Regions from separate parts of the Homo sapiens genome. Here region 2 is linked to region 1. The links are contacts of gene promoters, found by promoter capture Hi-C in human tissues and cell types (Jung and others, 2019). All regions are on one chromosome and are shown on one strand. The core of a region is centred on a gene start or on the middle of the fragment in contact, and the rest is flanking DNA. Distances in the headings are between cores, read along the strand shown.

What was found. Contacts are between HindIII fragments. The study calls those that stand out against the background at their distance.
Region 2: a contact is called between a fragment that was not itself captured here and the fragment with the promoter of TIMM17B in region 1, in 1 of the 25 tissues and cell types used here (lymphoblastoid cells).

What each region holds. Positions count from the first base shown.
Region 1 is chrX:48,895,910-48,902,537 of GRCh38, reverse strand. TIMM17B (translocase of inner mitochondrial membrane 17B) reads left to right here and starts at 4,770. Exons shown (of 6, transcript NM_001395498.1): 1 at 4,770-4,814; 2 at 5,680-5,779. The coding sequence starts at 4,789. It overlaps PQBP1 (polyglutamine binding protein 1), which reads right to left and starts at 4,608. Exons shown (of 7, transcript NM_001032382.2): 1 at 4,456-4,608; 2 at 3,962-4,046; 3 at 1,237-1,348; 4 at 496-608; 5 at 21-305. The coding sequence starts at 4,028. RefSeq lists enhancers at 3,945-4,164, 4,215-4,584, 4,875-5,074, 5,105-5,254. The HindIII fragment of the contact is 10,729 bases long and covers 1-6,628 here.
Region 2 is chrX:48,085,036-48,092,387 of GRCh38, reverse strand. No RefSeq gene overlaps it. Among named protein-coding and RNA genes, the nearest start is that of ZNF630, 17 kb to the right of the region's middle. The HindIII fragment of the contact is 3,925 bases long and covers 2,268-6,192 here.

The DNA.
Region 1 (6,628 bases), core at 3,521-6,020:
CCCCATTCTGCCCAGCTTACCCTTCTTGCTCTTGGGATAGGGAGCCAGCTCCTCCCGGCGATGGTGGCGCCGTTCTTTGCCCTCTTCCCGGTCTGCCTTGTCATACCCGCGGTCCCGATCCCGTTCCCTGTCTCGCTCTCTCTCTCTGTCTACCTTGTCATAGCCACGCTCTCGATCCCTGTCAGACTTGTCGTGGCCCCGGTCTGACTTGTCGTGGCCCCTGTCTAGTTTCTCATGGCTGCGGTCCGACTTGTCATGGCCCCTGTCCGACTTGTCATGGCTCCGGTCCAACTTTTCTTCAGCATCTGGGGACACAAGTCTTGAAGTGACCTCTTGCCACCCCAGGACCCAGCAGCCTCTGCCTTCAACAACCTCCCTTGCCTGAGGCTGGGCCCGCCTGGTCTCACCTGCCCCTCTGATCCACTATCATTCTACTTGGCCTCTCCGTGAGAACTGCTAAGATCACTCAAGGCACGCTTGTACCTGCCAACTCACCTGCATTACTGCTTCTGAGCTTCTTGGCCGATTTGGTAACCACGGAGTTGGGGTCATGTGGGGAGAGCCAGGATACAAGGTCTGTGTCTGCATTCCAGTAGTAAGGGAGCCCGCTGTGGGGCCGCAGGAAAGAAGTGTCAGCACAGATGTCCTTGCCTTGGATCCTCAACTCTTGTCTCCCCAGTCTCTGCCTATACCTGCCCCATGTCAGGACCCCACAGGCAGGATCCCCAGAATCTCTTCTCCTGAAGAGAAAACACTGTCAGCTGGGCGTGGTGGCTCATGCCTGTAATCCCAGCACTTTGGGAGGCCGAGGCAGGCGGATCACCTGAGGTCAGGAGTTCGGGACCAGCCTGACCAATATGATGAAACCCCATCTCTACAAAAAATACAAAAATTAGCTGGGTGTGGTGGTGTGCACCTGTAATCCCAGCTACCTGGGAGGCTGAGACAGGAGAATCGCTTGAACCCACGAGGCGGAGGTTGCCATAAGCCGAGATCACACCATTGCACTCCAGCCCGGGCTACAAGAGTGAAACTCCGTTTCAAAAAAGAGAGAAAAGACAGTCTTCCAACCCCAGAGGAGCCAGGCCCCAGCAGGCAGCAACTTGAGTCCTGCAGATACCTAATGCCAACACCCTCCACCCGAGGCTCCCTCCCTTGTGTCCCCCTAAACCTCACAACCAAGGTCAGCACAGGAAGGGTGAAGCCAGAAGTTAGCTCCCCCTCACCCAGGCTCACCAGGAAGGGTCGAACACCTTGTACCAGCTTGGTGGTAGGCCCTCCAACCTGGTGGCCTCGTAGTCCACAGGATCATCGTCATAGTCCTCGGCAATGATCTCTTCCTCTGGTTCTGGTAGAACAAGGTGGGGATGAGGAGAGCAGATAAGGACCAGGGGACCTCATCCTACATGTAGAGCCTAGAGACACGCACTCACATTCACACAAGCCACACATAAAAGACACGTGTGTGTGTGTGCCGGGAAGAATATGAAGTATCTTTCACATTCCAAATCCAACTCTCTATATTAGGAGGTTTACAAAAAAAGGTTACCTAAATCTGTGTCTGGGTTCAGATGATGAGTTCTACTGTTAGCCAAAGCTATCTGGTTTCAGAGTTGATAGGGATTCATCAAAAAATTTACTCATCTTGGCCAGGCGTGATGGCTCATGCCTGTAATCCCAGCACTTTAGGAGGCCAAAGTGGGTGGATCACGAGGTCAGGAGTTCAAGACCAGCCTGGCCAAGATGGTGAAAACCCGTCTGTGAGACTAGCCTGGTCAACATAGTGAGACCCCTGTCTCTACAAAAAAAAAAAATTAGCTGGGCACAGTGGCACACGTCTGTAGTCCCAACTACTCAGGAGGCTGAGGCAGGAGGCTCATTTGAGCCCAGGACTTTGAGCTTGCAGTGAGCTATTATCGTGCCACTGCACTCCAGCCTGGGCAACAGAGTGAGACCCTGTCTCTAAACAAATAATAAATAATATATATACCATAGGCACAGGTCATTCAATAGGCTTAAAAGAAAATCCAGCCTGGCCAACATGGTGAAACCCCATCTCTACTAAAAAATACAAAAATTAGCCAGGCACAGTGGAGCACGCCTGTGGTCCTAGCTACTCGGGAGGCTGAGGCAGGAGAATCGCTTGAACCCGGGAGGCAGAGGTTGCAGTGGGCCAAGACTGCACCACTGCACTCCAGCCTAGGTGACAGAGCGAGACTCTCTCAAAAAAAAAAAAAAAAAAAAAAAAAAAAAGTAAATCAATGATCATTGCCAGTTTTATTTTTTTGAGATGGAGTCTTTCTCTGTTGCCCAGGCTGGAGTGCAGTGGCATGATCTCGGCTCACTGCAAGCTCCGCCTTCCGGGTTCACACCATTCTCCTGCCTCAGCCTCCCGAGTAGCTGGGACTACAGGCATCTGGCACCACGCCCGGCTAAGTTTTTTGTATTTTTATTAGAGATGGGGTTTCACCCTGTTAGCCAGAATGGTCTCGATCTCCTGACCTCGTGATCCGTCCACCTCCGCCTCCCAAAGCGCTGAGATTACAGGCATGAGGCACCCTGCCCGGCCTGGGATCATTGACAATTTTATTAACCACAAGGTCTATACCTTGCACACAGTAGGCTTGTAATAGATGTCAGTTATCAATAAGGAGAAGATATATTTTCCAGTGCCTGGCACACTATAGCCCCAAATAGATGCCAGTTTTTAGTATTACTGATAATAAGGTGTGATTTGCAGCCAGAGCACAGTAGGCCTAAATGATAGATCCTCACTGCAACTACGCTTGGCACACAGGAGACAGCAGTAGAGGTTAGCAGTACTTCCTATTAGATACTATGTCATCACCCCCATAGAGTAATCCATGGGATTTAACTTGGCATACAGTAGGCCCCAAATAGGCATTAGGTGGTCAGTATTATTTTGTTGTTTTTTTTGGATTTTTTTCAGACAGGGTCTCCATGTGTCGGCCAGGCTGGAGTGCAGTGGCACAATCTCGGCTCACTGCACCCTTGACATCCTAGGCTCAAGAGATCCTCTCACCTCAGCCTCCCAAGTAGCTGGGACTACAGGCATGCACCACAACACACGATTAATTTTTGTATTTTTTGTAAAGACGGGGTTTTGCCATGTTGCTCAGGCTAATCTCTTAATCCCTAAACTCAAGCAATCTACCCGCCTCAGCCTCCTAAAGTGCTGGGAATGCCAGCTTGAGCCGCCACGCCCAGCCAGTCAGTATTGTTAAGAATGAAATATCTGCCGGGCACAGTGGCTTATGCCTGTAATCCCAACCCTTTGGAAAGCCAAGGGTGGGGGGTGGATCACCTGAGGTCAGGAGTTAGAGGCCAGCCTAGCCAACATGGTGAAACCCGTCTCTACTAAAAATGCAAAAATCAGCCGGGTGTGGTATCACGTGCCTGTAATCCCAGCTACTTGGGAGGCTGAGACAGGAAAATCGCTTGAGCCCGGGAGGCGGAGGTTGCAGTGAGACGAGATCACGCCACAGCACTCCAGCCTGGGCGACAGACCGAGACTCTGTCTCAAAAAAAAAAAAAAAAAAATTGCCAGGTGTGGTGGGGCGGGGCGTGCCTGTAGTCCCAACTACTCGGGAAGTTAAGGCAGGAGAATCGCTTGAACCTGGAAGGCGGAGGTTTTAGTGAGCCGAGATCGCGCCACTGCACTCCAGCCTGGGTGCACAATAAGACTCTGCCTCAAAAAAAAAAAAAAAAAAAAAAAAAAAAAAAAAAAAAAAGAATGAAATATCTATTCCCCCAACCCCCTCCACTTGACACGCGGTAGGGATGGATGTCAGGAATCCACATTGTTAACAACGAAAAATGCCTGCCACCCCATTGCTTGGTGCACAGTTGGCCCATGCTAGGTATCAAGCGTCAGTATCAACAACAAAAGTGCCTGTCGAGGCTGGCACGTGTTAGGACCATCTGCTTTTAGCTGTCTCACCAGGCTCCAGATGTTTGAGGATGCCTCTCTTGGCCAAGCGGGTCTGCAGCGCAACGGGCAGCGGCATAGCTGATAGCAGACAGACCTAGGGACAGACGAACAAACTGACAAGCAGCTCAGATAAAGATTCCTATCTGGATCCCGTAACCAAGCGCCTCCCGTAAACATGTACTCATCTGACTCCGATCTACTCAAATGAACCAGTAGCTGGGTGGACAGAACATACGCACTAAAAGATGTAAGAGGTAGGTGGCAATATCATCGCAACTCCCACCAACCCTACTGTCCCCGAAACCAGGTGCTCCAGGGCCCTGTTCCTCTCCCAGGCCCAGGCTCCGCCCACAGCCTAAGAAGCCCGGCCCCTCCGCACTTCAGAAATGGGCTCATCCAGCGTCCCCATGACTGCCGGGTGGGAGAAACCAAAGCGCTGGGATGGGGGAGCAGAGGGCAGCACTTCCTCCAGCTCCAAAAGAGTGCACCCACCCCAACGTTACCAATACACTCGTGCAGGTAGTGGAAGGCTGTCACACCGCCCGTCTCTCTCGTGTCGCCGCTACGATACCTGGGCCCACACGACTCTCTTCCCAAAACACCGAATGAGACCTTCTCTCAACGAGGCCTTCACTCCCCGAGCCTGAAAGTAACTGGACTACGCTCAGGAGGCAATGAACAAATGGCAGAAACTCGATTGGCCAATGAGAGTGCGTCCTTGGCGTGACATGCGGTATAGCGACCCAATCGCTGCCCGGTAATAGGCGGAAAGCTCCGACGCCGGTGTGCGTCTACGCTGGGGGCGTGGCCTGACTGCGCGGCCAGACGCCAGCGCCATGGAGGAGTACGCTCGGGAGCCCTGGTACGGCAATGGGCACAGGCATCCGGAATATTGCTGCGACGCCAAGGCCAGCCGTGGGGGTCGGGCGGGGGAGGCATCGGCCGCACAGAGCCATGTACCAGACTCGGGGGACTCTTAACGTATCTCCCGCTACCCCCACTCGGTTCCTGTCATTCGGGCTCCGTTATGAGGGGCCACAACCAGAGAAGGTGCGGCGAAGGCCGAACCACGCCATGTTTCTCCTGACTTCGTAATCTCCTAGCCCTGTTAACGAAAAAAGACACGCTGGACGATCCATCCCGGCTAGGGGTGGTACGGTGTTGACCGGAAATCCCCAGAGTTGCCGCCAGTGGTTTTTCCCAGGTCGCCTTTGTCAGTGGGGGGCGGGGCACGGATGAACCTGTTGAGGGCCGGCGGGGACGGTGGATGCTTCCCGCGGTCGCTCTTGGTTTTTCCCAGTTGTGCCGGATTGAAAAGGGGCGGGGCATGGTTGGACGGGCTCACCGTCGGAGAAGGGGTGCGACGCGGTCCTGCTTTGCTGACAGTCTGTCTTGGCTAGTTAACACGCCTATGTCGCTTATTGAAACGTCAACTCTGCGTGTGCCAATTCATTTAATCTTTGATCACAGTAAAACCGTTGGCTGATTCCTTGGTTGGTAGACAGGGCGAAGACTAATATTTCTCCCCCTTTGCCCCATTTCTCGCTTTAATGGGGGGGTGTGTGGAAAAAGCGTGACAGAACTAGCTCATTATTATCTGAAGTGTTTGTTCCTACTTAGGAACTTCCCATTCTGGTGACTTGGTTTCTCCCAGTTAGAAAAGAGTTCGTGTGACAGGACCTGGGGGAGGGCTCACATTAACCCCGTCCTTCCCTTCCTGCTTGCAGCCCATGGCGAATTGTGGATGATTGCGGTGGAGCCTTCACTATGGGTGTCATCGGTGGCGGAGTCTTCCAGGCCATCAAGGGTTTCCGCAATGCCCCTGTTGTGAGTCCAGGCCTTCCCTGGGTTGGTGTGGGGTTAGCTATCTTGCCCACAAGGGAGGCTGCTCTGAAAACTGCTTGGAGCTGCCAGTCACGTGCACTTATTCATTCTGGTGCCCACTCACCTACTATGTGCCGAGCCTGGCTCCTGTATCTGGGATTTTGTAGGGATTGCAAACATGGCCTCTGTCTTCCACCCTCCACCCCACCCAACTGGAGCTCCTCTGTGGAAATGCTGTGTCGTTCAAAGAGTCATCACCAAATTTTAAATGTATGTGCAAAGCCAGACAGTTTTTTTTTTTTTTGAGACAGTCTTGCTCTGTTGCCCAGGCTAGAGTGCAGTGGCACGCTCTTGGCTCACTGCAACCTCTGCCTCCTGGGTTCAGGCAATTCTCCTGTCTCAGCCTCCCAAGTAGCTGGGACTACAGGCATGTGCCACCAGACCTGACGAATTTTTGTAATTTTAGTAGAAATGGGGTTTCACTATGTTGGCCAGGCTGGCCTTGAACTCTGGACCTCAGGTGATCCACCTACCTCGGCCTCCCAAAGTGCTGGGATTACAGGCGTGTGCCACTGTGCCTGGCCATGTTTTTTTTTTTTTTTTTTTTTTTGAGACAGCATCTTGCCCTGTTGCCCAGGCTGGCGTGCAGTGGCCTGATCATGGGTCACTACAGCCTCCGCCTCCCAGGCTCAAGTGATCCTCCCACCTCAGCCTCCCAAGTAGCTGGGACCACAGGACTGCGCCACCATGCCCGGCTAATTATTTATGTATGTATTTATTTATTTGTAGAGACGGGGTTTCAACGTGTTGCTTAGGCTGGTCTCTAATTCCTGAACTCAAGTGATCCACCCA
Region 2 (7,352 bases), core at 2,981-5,480, 810 kb after region 1:
CCAGTGGGAGGGAAGCATTAGCCTGCAGTTCCTGACTTTTTGCCTTGGGAGGGCTCTCCATGGATTCCACTAGACATGTGAATTTGTCCTGGAGGAAGCACAGTGAGGGTTCTCAGTGGGACTGATGGCAGGGCAAGGGGTCCTCTAGAGAGAGGCAAGAGTAGCCAGATCCCTGACTTAGTTCCTCATTGATTCCGCTCCAGTTTCACCTGTGAGTTGGGTGGGTGTGCCTGAGGCAGGTGACTCTCCATCCCCGCCTCACCAAGTGGCCCACTCTGTCTCTGCCTTTTATCTGCTTCTTTCTTCCTTCTTTCCTTCTTTGCTTCCTTCCTTCCTTTCTTCCTTTCTTTCCTTCTTTTTTTTTTGACAGAGTCTCACTCTGTCGCCCAGGCCAGAGTGCAGTGGCACGATCTCGACTCACTGCACTCGGCTCACTGAATTCTGCCTCCCAGGTTCAAGCAATTCTCCTGGCTCAGCCTCCCGAGTAGCTGGGATTACACGCGTGTGCCACCACGCTTGGCTAAATTTTGTGTTTTTAGTAGAGACGGGGTTTTACCATATCGGCCAGGCTAGTCTTGAACTCCTGACCTCAGGTGATCCGCCCACCTCGGCCTCCCAAACTGCTGGGATTACAGCCACCATGCCTGGCCCAAGATGGTGTTTTACTAACTAAAATACATGAGTTAAAAAAAAAATTTGCTCTAAATTAAATTTAGTTAATTATGAAAAAAAAAACCTTTACAATCTTTGTTTCTCAAAAGTGAGAAGCTTGTAGGTGTCAGTAGAGAAAAAAACAACTTTATGGAAACCTGCAGCATTGCAGGGGTTAGGGGTGATGGGGAGGGCTGAGCAGATGGGCCCTTTCCAGTTCAGGAACCTTGGTCCCGAGCAGAAATATGATGATGAGAGTTCCTCATCTTTCCCTGGCTGCCTCCCTGGTAGTTGGTGCCACGTCTCCAGAAGTGGTTTGTAGTGAATTGTTTCTTTGGAGGCTGGAAGTGGACGATGCACAGGTGACCTCTGTGACAAGTGCTTAAAGGCAGATGTCACTGGCCATGTTTGTTGTAGTATTAGGATTTGGACATTGGCTAGAGATGCAGCCGCCAACATCTTTAGTCAAGAGGTGAGGAGCAGAGAGAGACAAAAGAAAAGGAAGAGAATGTAGGAGGGAGAGGAAAGTCTGAGAGTCTGTTAGAGAGGGTTTAGAGAGATGGGGATGGAGAGAATGCATCAGAAAGAGATCAGCAGGCTGGACATGGTAGGTCACGCCTGTAATCCCAACACTTTGGGAGGCCAAGGCGGGAAGATCGCCTGAGGTCAGGAGTTCCTGACCACCCTGGCCAACATGGTGAAACACCGTCTCTACTAAAAATACAAAGATTGGCTGGACATGGTGGTGGGCACCTATAATCCCAGCTACTCGGGAGGTTGAGGCAGGAGAACGACTTGAACCTAGGAGGCGGAAGTTGCAGCGAGCCAAGATCACAGCACTGCACTGCAGCCTAAGCAATAAAGTGAGACTCTGTGTTGGAAGAAATGAAGAAGAGAGAAAGAAAGAAAGAGAGAAAGAAAAGAAAGAAAGAAAGAAAGAAAGAAAAAAAGAAAGAAAGAAAGAAAGGAAAGAGAGAGGGAGAGAAAGAGAGAAAGAAAGAGAGAAAAAAAGAAAGAAAGAAAGACAACACCTTGTAACATTTTATTTCCTACTGTTGTAGTAATTGCTCTAGAAAGAAAGACAATATATTGGGCACATTGGTATTGTTCCGTGGTGAGCAGTTCTATGTAAACTTACCCTCAAAGGCCAAGGGCACTGAGAGGCCAAAGAAAGAGGCTGACAAATCGAGTTTCTCAGAAATAAACAATTAATGGTGACCTTTGAACAGAAGCTATGTGTCCAGTGGCTGCAAGAGGGTGGAACCCACACCCGTCCTCCAGAAAGTTTACTTTCTATAGAAAATTTTTATGCTAAACATGAGCACCTGGCCATGTCTCACACTTTCTTGCAGAAACTCTTGACCACTGGAGAGGTTAGATAAGCATCTTTATGAGACATTATCTACGCTACGGCCAATGTTTAAAGACCTTGTTGCCAAATACCTTGGTATGCGGGAGTCAAACATCTGTCATCATGATATTTTCCCTTCAAGATGAAATCACTCTGGCCATGCAGCAGGCTGTATACCTACACTCCACTCCTCAGTACTGGTCCTTGCAATCTCACGTGCCCACCTGTTCCTTGATAGTCCCTGGGTCTAGAGGGAGGGTGCTTGATATTGTATAGCTATAGCAGCAGCTCATTGGCTTTATTGGAGGAAAATGCTGCAGCAACAGTAAAGGCAAAACCAGGACAGTAAGGAACATAGGAGCACAACACCTAAACCAAGAAGCAGCTTCTGCCACCAGGTGCCCCAGGACCGAAGCCAGCTATGAAGCCAGTAACAACTACAGCATTCAACGCAGGGGTTCAGTCTGAGAAATTGGTCATTTGTGTTATATAGTCTCTCCAATCTCATCCTTGGAAAGGAGATACCCACCACGGCAGGCCAGAAGCATGGGAGAGTGGCATGAGGCCGCATACCAAACCAATGTTTTTCTTTTTTTCTTTCTTTCTTTTTTTTTTGAGATGGAGTCTTGCTCTGTTGCCCAGGTTGGAGTGCAGTGGCGTGATCTCAGCTCACTGCAACCTCCGCCTCCTGGGCTCAAGCGATTCTCCTGCCTCAGCCCCCTGAGTAGCTGGAATTACAGGCGCCTGCCACCACACCCGGCTAATTTTTGTATTTTTAGTAGAGACGGGGTTTCACCATGTTGGCCAGGCTGGTCTCAAACTCCTGAGCTCCAGTGATCCACCTGCCTCAGCCTCCCAAAATGCTGGGATTACAGGTGTGAGCCACTGTGCCCGGCCCCAACAGATGTTTTTCTGTAAGCCAACAGCATACTCTTGGGCCCATTGTAGGAAAAGGTTTGCTTCCTAGGTGGCAGCTAGTGATAGTATTGACAGAACATGACAACTAAGGATGAAAGGAAACAAACTTAGTGGGTATTTGCAAGGAAATTTATTTTCCATCTGTCAGAATACACCAGTCCATTCATTTAGAGTAGTTAGTATAGAGTCAGCTCTTGGCTTTTGTAAAGGGAAAGGGGCCATATACCAACCATGTTGCCCAAGGATGAAGTGTCAGCAGCCGTGGTCAAAGTAATTTGATTGAGAGTACACCATATTAGAGAGCTCACCACCATGCCATGGGGTATATATGCTTCCCCTGACCATTTATAATGAGTGATCGGGGACCAGTATTCAATAAGATCAATGCGAACCACTCTAACTGTTGAGGATATTCCCCCATCTCTGGCAGGAAATAGCCGATCCAGCCTGGGTGTATTTGCCATTCTGAGCCCCAGTGCAGTGTCCCCTCCTCTGGTAGAATGTCTGTCACTGTCTTCATGCAGAAAATATGGTGGGTGTCAACTAGGTCTGAAAGTAAAGCAGTCCTCTCAGTTACCCGTATGTGAAAAATAGTAGGCTTGGGGAATGGTGGTCCCAACCTATCACATGGGGCAGGCACCTCATCCCTTTGGCTGAAGTTAAAGAAATAAGGGCTTCAGATCACACATTCATCCACCTTTGCAAGGTAGGTTTCTCCAGGAAAGTTTGAATTTGTGCTTCTTTTTTTAAAAAAAACTTTTATTTTAGGTTCAGGGGTACATGTGCAGGTTCCTTATATAGGTAAATTGCATGTCACAGGGGTTTGGCGTACAGATTATTTCATCACCCAGGCAATAAGCTTAGTATCCTATAGGTAGTGTTTCGATCCTCCCTCCCTCCACTCTCAAGTAGGCCCTGGTGTCTCTTGTTCCCTTCTTTGTGTCCATGTGTACTCAATGTTTTGCTCCCATTTACAAGTGAGAACGTGCAGTATTTGGTTTTTTGTTCCTGTGTTAGTTCGCTTATAATACTGTTTCCCCTAACCATTTATAGCGGGTGATCATGGGTCCAGTATTCAATAGGAGCAATGGGAACCACTCTAACTGTTGAGGATATTCCCCCATCTATGGCAAGAAATAGCCTATCCAGCCTGGGGGTATTTGCCATTCTAAGCCCCAGTGCAGTGTCCTCTCCCCTGACAGTATATCTGTCAGTGTTGTTATGCACAAAATATGCTGGTTGTCAATCAGGTCTGGGAGCAAAGCGGTCTTCTCAGTTACCCATATGCAAATAGTGGTAGGCTTGGGGTACGGTGGTCCCAACAAGTCATATGGAGCAAGCATCCTGCTTTGGCTGAAGTTAAATACATAAGCCCTGCAGATCACACATTCATCCACTCTAGCAAGGTAGGTGATAGGTGATATGGTTTGGATCTGTATCTCCACCAAATCTCATGTCAAATTGTAATCCCCAATGTTGGAGGTGGGGCCTGGTGGGAGGTGATTGGATCAAGGGGGTGGATTACTCATGAATGGTTTAGCACCACCCCCTTCGTACTATCCTCACAATAGTGCGTGAGTTCTTGTGAGATCAGGTTGTTTAAAAGTGTGTAGCACTTCCTCTCTGACTCTCTTTTGCTCCTGCTCCTGCCATGTGAGATGCTTGTTCCCCCTTTGCCTTCCACCATGATCAGAAGCTTTCAGAGGCCTCTCCCAAAGCAGAAGCTGCTGTGCTTCCTGCATAGCCTGTATAACGGTGAGCCAATTAATCCTCTTTTCCAGTTACCCAGTCTCAGGTATTTCTTTGTAGCAATGTGAGAACGGATTAATACTGTAGGTTTCCCTAGGAAACTTTTTTTTTTTTGAGACAGAGTCTCGCTCTGTTGCCCAGGCTGGAGTGCAGTGGTATGCTCTTGGCTCACTGCAACCTCTGCCTCCCAGGTTCAAATAATTCTCTTGCCTCAGCCTCCAGAGTAGCTGGGATTACAGGTGTGTGCTACCACGGCCAGCTAATTTTTGTATTTTTTTTTTTTTAAATAGAGATGGGGTTTCGCCATGTTGGCCAGGCTAGTCTCGAACTCCTGACCTCAATCGATCCTCCCACCTCAGCCTCCCAAAGTGCTGGGATTACAAGTGTGAGCCACCATGCTCAGCCTCCCCAGGAAACTGAATTTGTGCTTTCAGAAGACCAGTTTTCTTTTTAGTGAACCCTGCTGTTTGGAGGTTACATGGGAGATGAAAATGCCATGATCTGTTGTGTTCCGTGGCCCAGTCCTGCACATCATGTCCAGCAAAATGGGTCTTTTGGTTACTGTCAATGTGTCAAAGATATCCATACATAGTACTGAGAGCCTCTAAACCTTTAATAGTACTGGCTTGATTAGCTCACTTACAAGGACAAACTTACAGCAGTTCAGTAGCAGTATCTACACAGGCCAATACATACTTTTTGTCTTGACTTACAAAAAGAAGCCCTATATAATTCATTTGCTGATCTGTTATAGGGTAGACAGCCCTATGAGTGTGTCCTGCATGGTATGGTATATAGTGTGGATGGAATCAAGAATGTGGTATACATTTGTATTAGTCCGTTTCTACACTGCTATAAAGAACTACCTAAGACTGCGTAACGTGTAAAGGAAAGAAGCTTAATTGACTCACAGCTCCATGTGGCTGGGGAGGCCTCAGCAAACTTACAATCATGGCAGAAGGCAAAGGGGAAGCAAGGACCTTCTTCACATGGTGGCAGGAGAGAAAGAGAGCAAGGAGGGAACTGCCAAACACCTTTAAACCATCAGATCTCATGAGAACTCACTCACTATCATGAGAACAGCATAGGGGAACCGCCCCCATGATCCAGCCACCTCCCCTGACATGTGTGAATTACAATTCAACATGAGATTTGGGTGCAGACACAGAGCCAAACCATATCAACATTTTTAACAGCTATTGGGAGGTCAGTATATTTTAAGGGCAATCCTGCCTTCTTGGCTATCTCCAAGCCTACTCTTGCACTTCTATGACTACTACTTTTGTTATGTACACAGGTCTCTATTTATTGGCCTGGGACAGAGCACAATGCTTCTAATTGTTCTTAGGGTGTCAGCTTCTATACTTCCTGGAACTGAGTCCTATTGTGTACCACTACATGAAATACCAACTATTTCATCAGCTGCAAGGTGTTGCAGCTTCTCTATGTGTCTTGCCACATGTTCATGCCTTATATGGGTTTGTGCATAAACACCCATTTTTCTTGTTGCCACTGGGCTAGCCACATAATTAGGCCTTTGAATGTAGCCCAGCTATCAGCACAAAGAGCCAGGGGCCAGGGCTTATGTGTGATTATTAACCAAGCAGCTTGCAACTCAGCCCACTGTCTACTGTGATGGGTACTTATATCAAGCCAGATTGTATCAGTTTGTGGTCATATAGCAACAGCGGTCCAAGTACAGGGGTTTCCCTTGCTGGAGCCATCTGTATACCAAGCATGATCAGGGATGCATAACACTCCTTTGCTTATCGAGTCACACACTGGGGTAGGAAGGGGCAAAGGGATGTCCTTTGGTTGCTCACATATAACAAGGCCTAACACAGCATGCAATTCTCGGCTTAAGGGATTGGTTACCAGGACACTTCATTGTTGCAAACAGGCATGCCATTTATTCAAGATAGGTGTTTGGGATTTAAACGGAGGTGGGTGATTTAAATAATCCTTCTATACATCCCTTGATTGGTAGACCAGTTCTCACAGTCATGGGAAGGGTCTTTGCTAATTATTCCACCTTCTGTAAAGCATACACTGCTAGCACTTGTTCAATGGGAGAGTACTGATAGGGACAGGAGGCAGATAAATTCTAGGCAGAAGAAGTGGAGTCCCTGACGAGGGCCCCACCTTCAAGCTTGGAACCGCAGCCCAAAGTGAGAACTTCACATCCCCGTTTTCCTGATCGAATGTTGCCTTTTCCAAAACCACCCCTGGCCCGCCATGCTCTCCATCCTGTACATATAAAAACCCCAGGCTCCACTGGCAGAGAGCAGAGAAGGGGAGAAGAAAAGAAGCAGCTGAACATTGGAGAGGTGCAGTTTGACTTCAGAGGGATGGCTTGATGGCAGAACTTTGGAGAACAGTCTGGCTGAAGATGGCCAGACTTCAGGGGAAGAATACTCTCCTGCTCCTTCCTCTTTCCAGCTCCCTTTCCTGCTGAGAGCCACTTCCATCGGCAATAAAATCCCCTGCATTTGTTATCCTTCAATTCGTTCGTGCAATCTGATTTTTCCTGGATGCTGGACAAGAGCTCGGAATACAAAAAGGCTGTCACACTGACCCTTTGCCCTCACGAAAAGGCAGAAGGTTCACTGAGCTGTTAAACACTTACTTAAGCCATCCTCGGGCAGTAAAGCTAAAAGAGCTCACTGTAATGCATGCCCTGGGG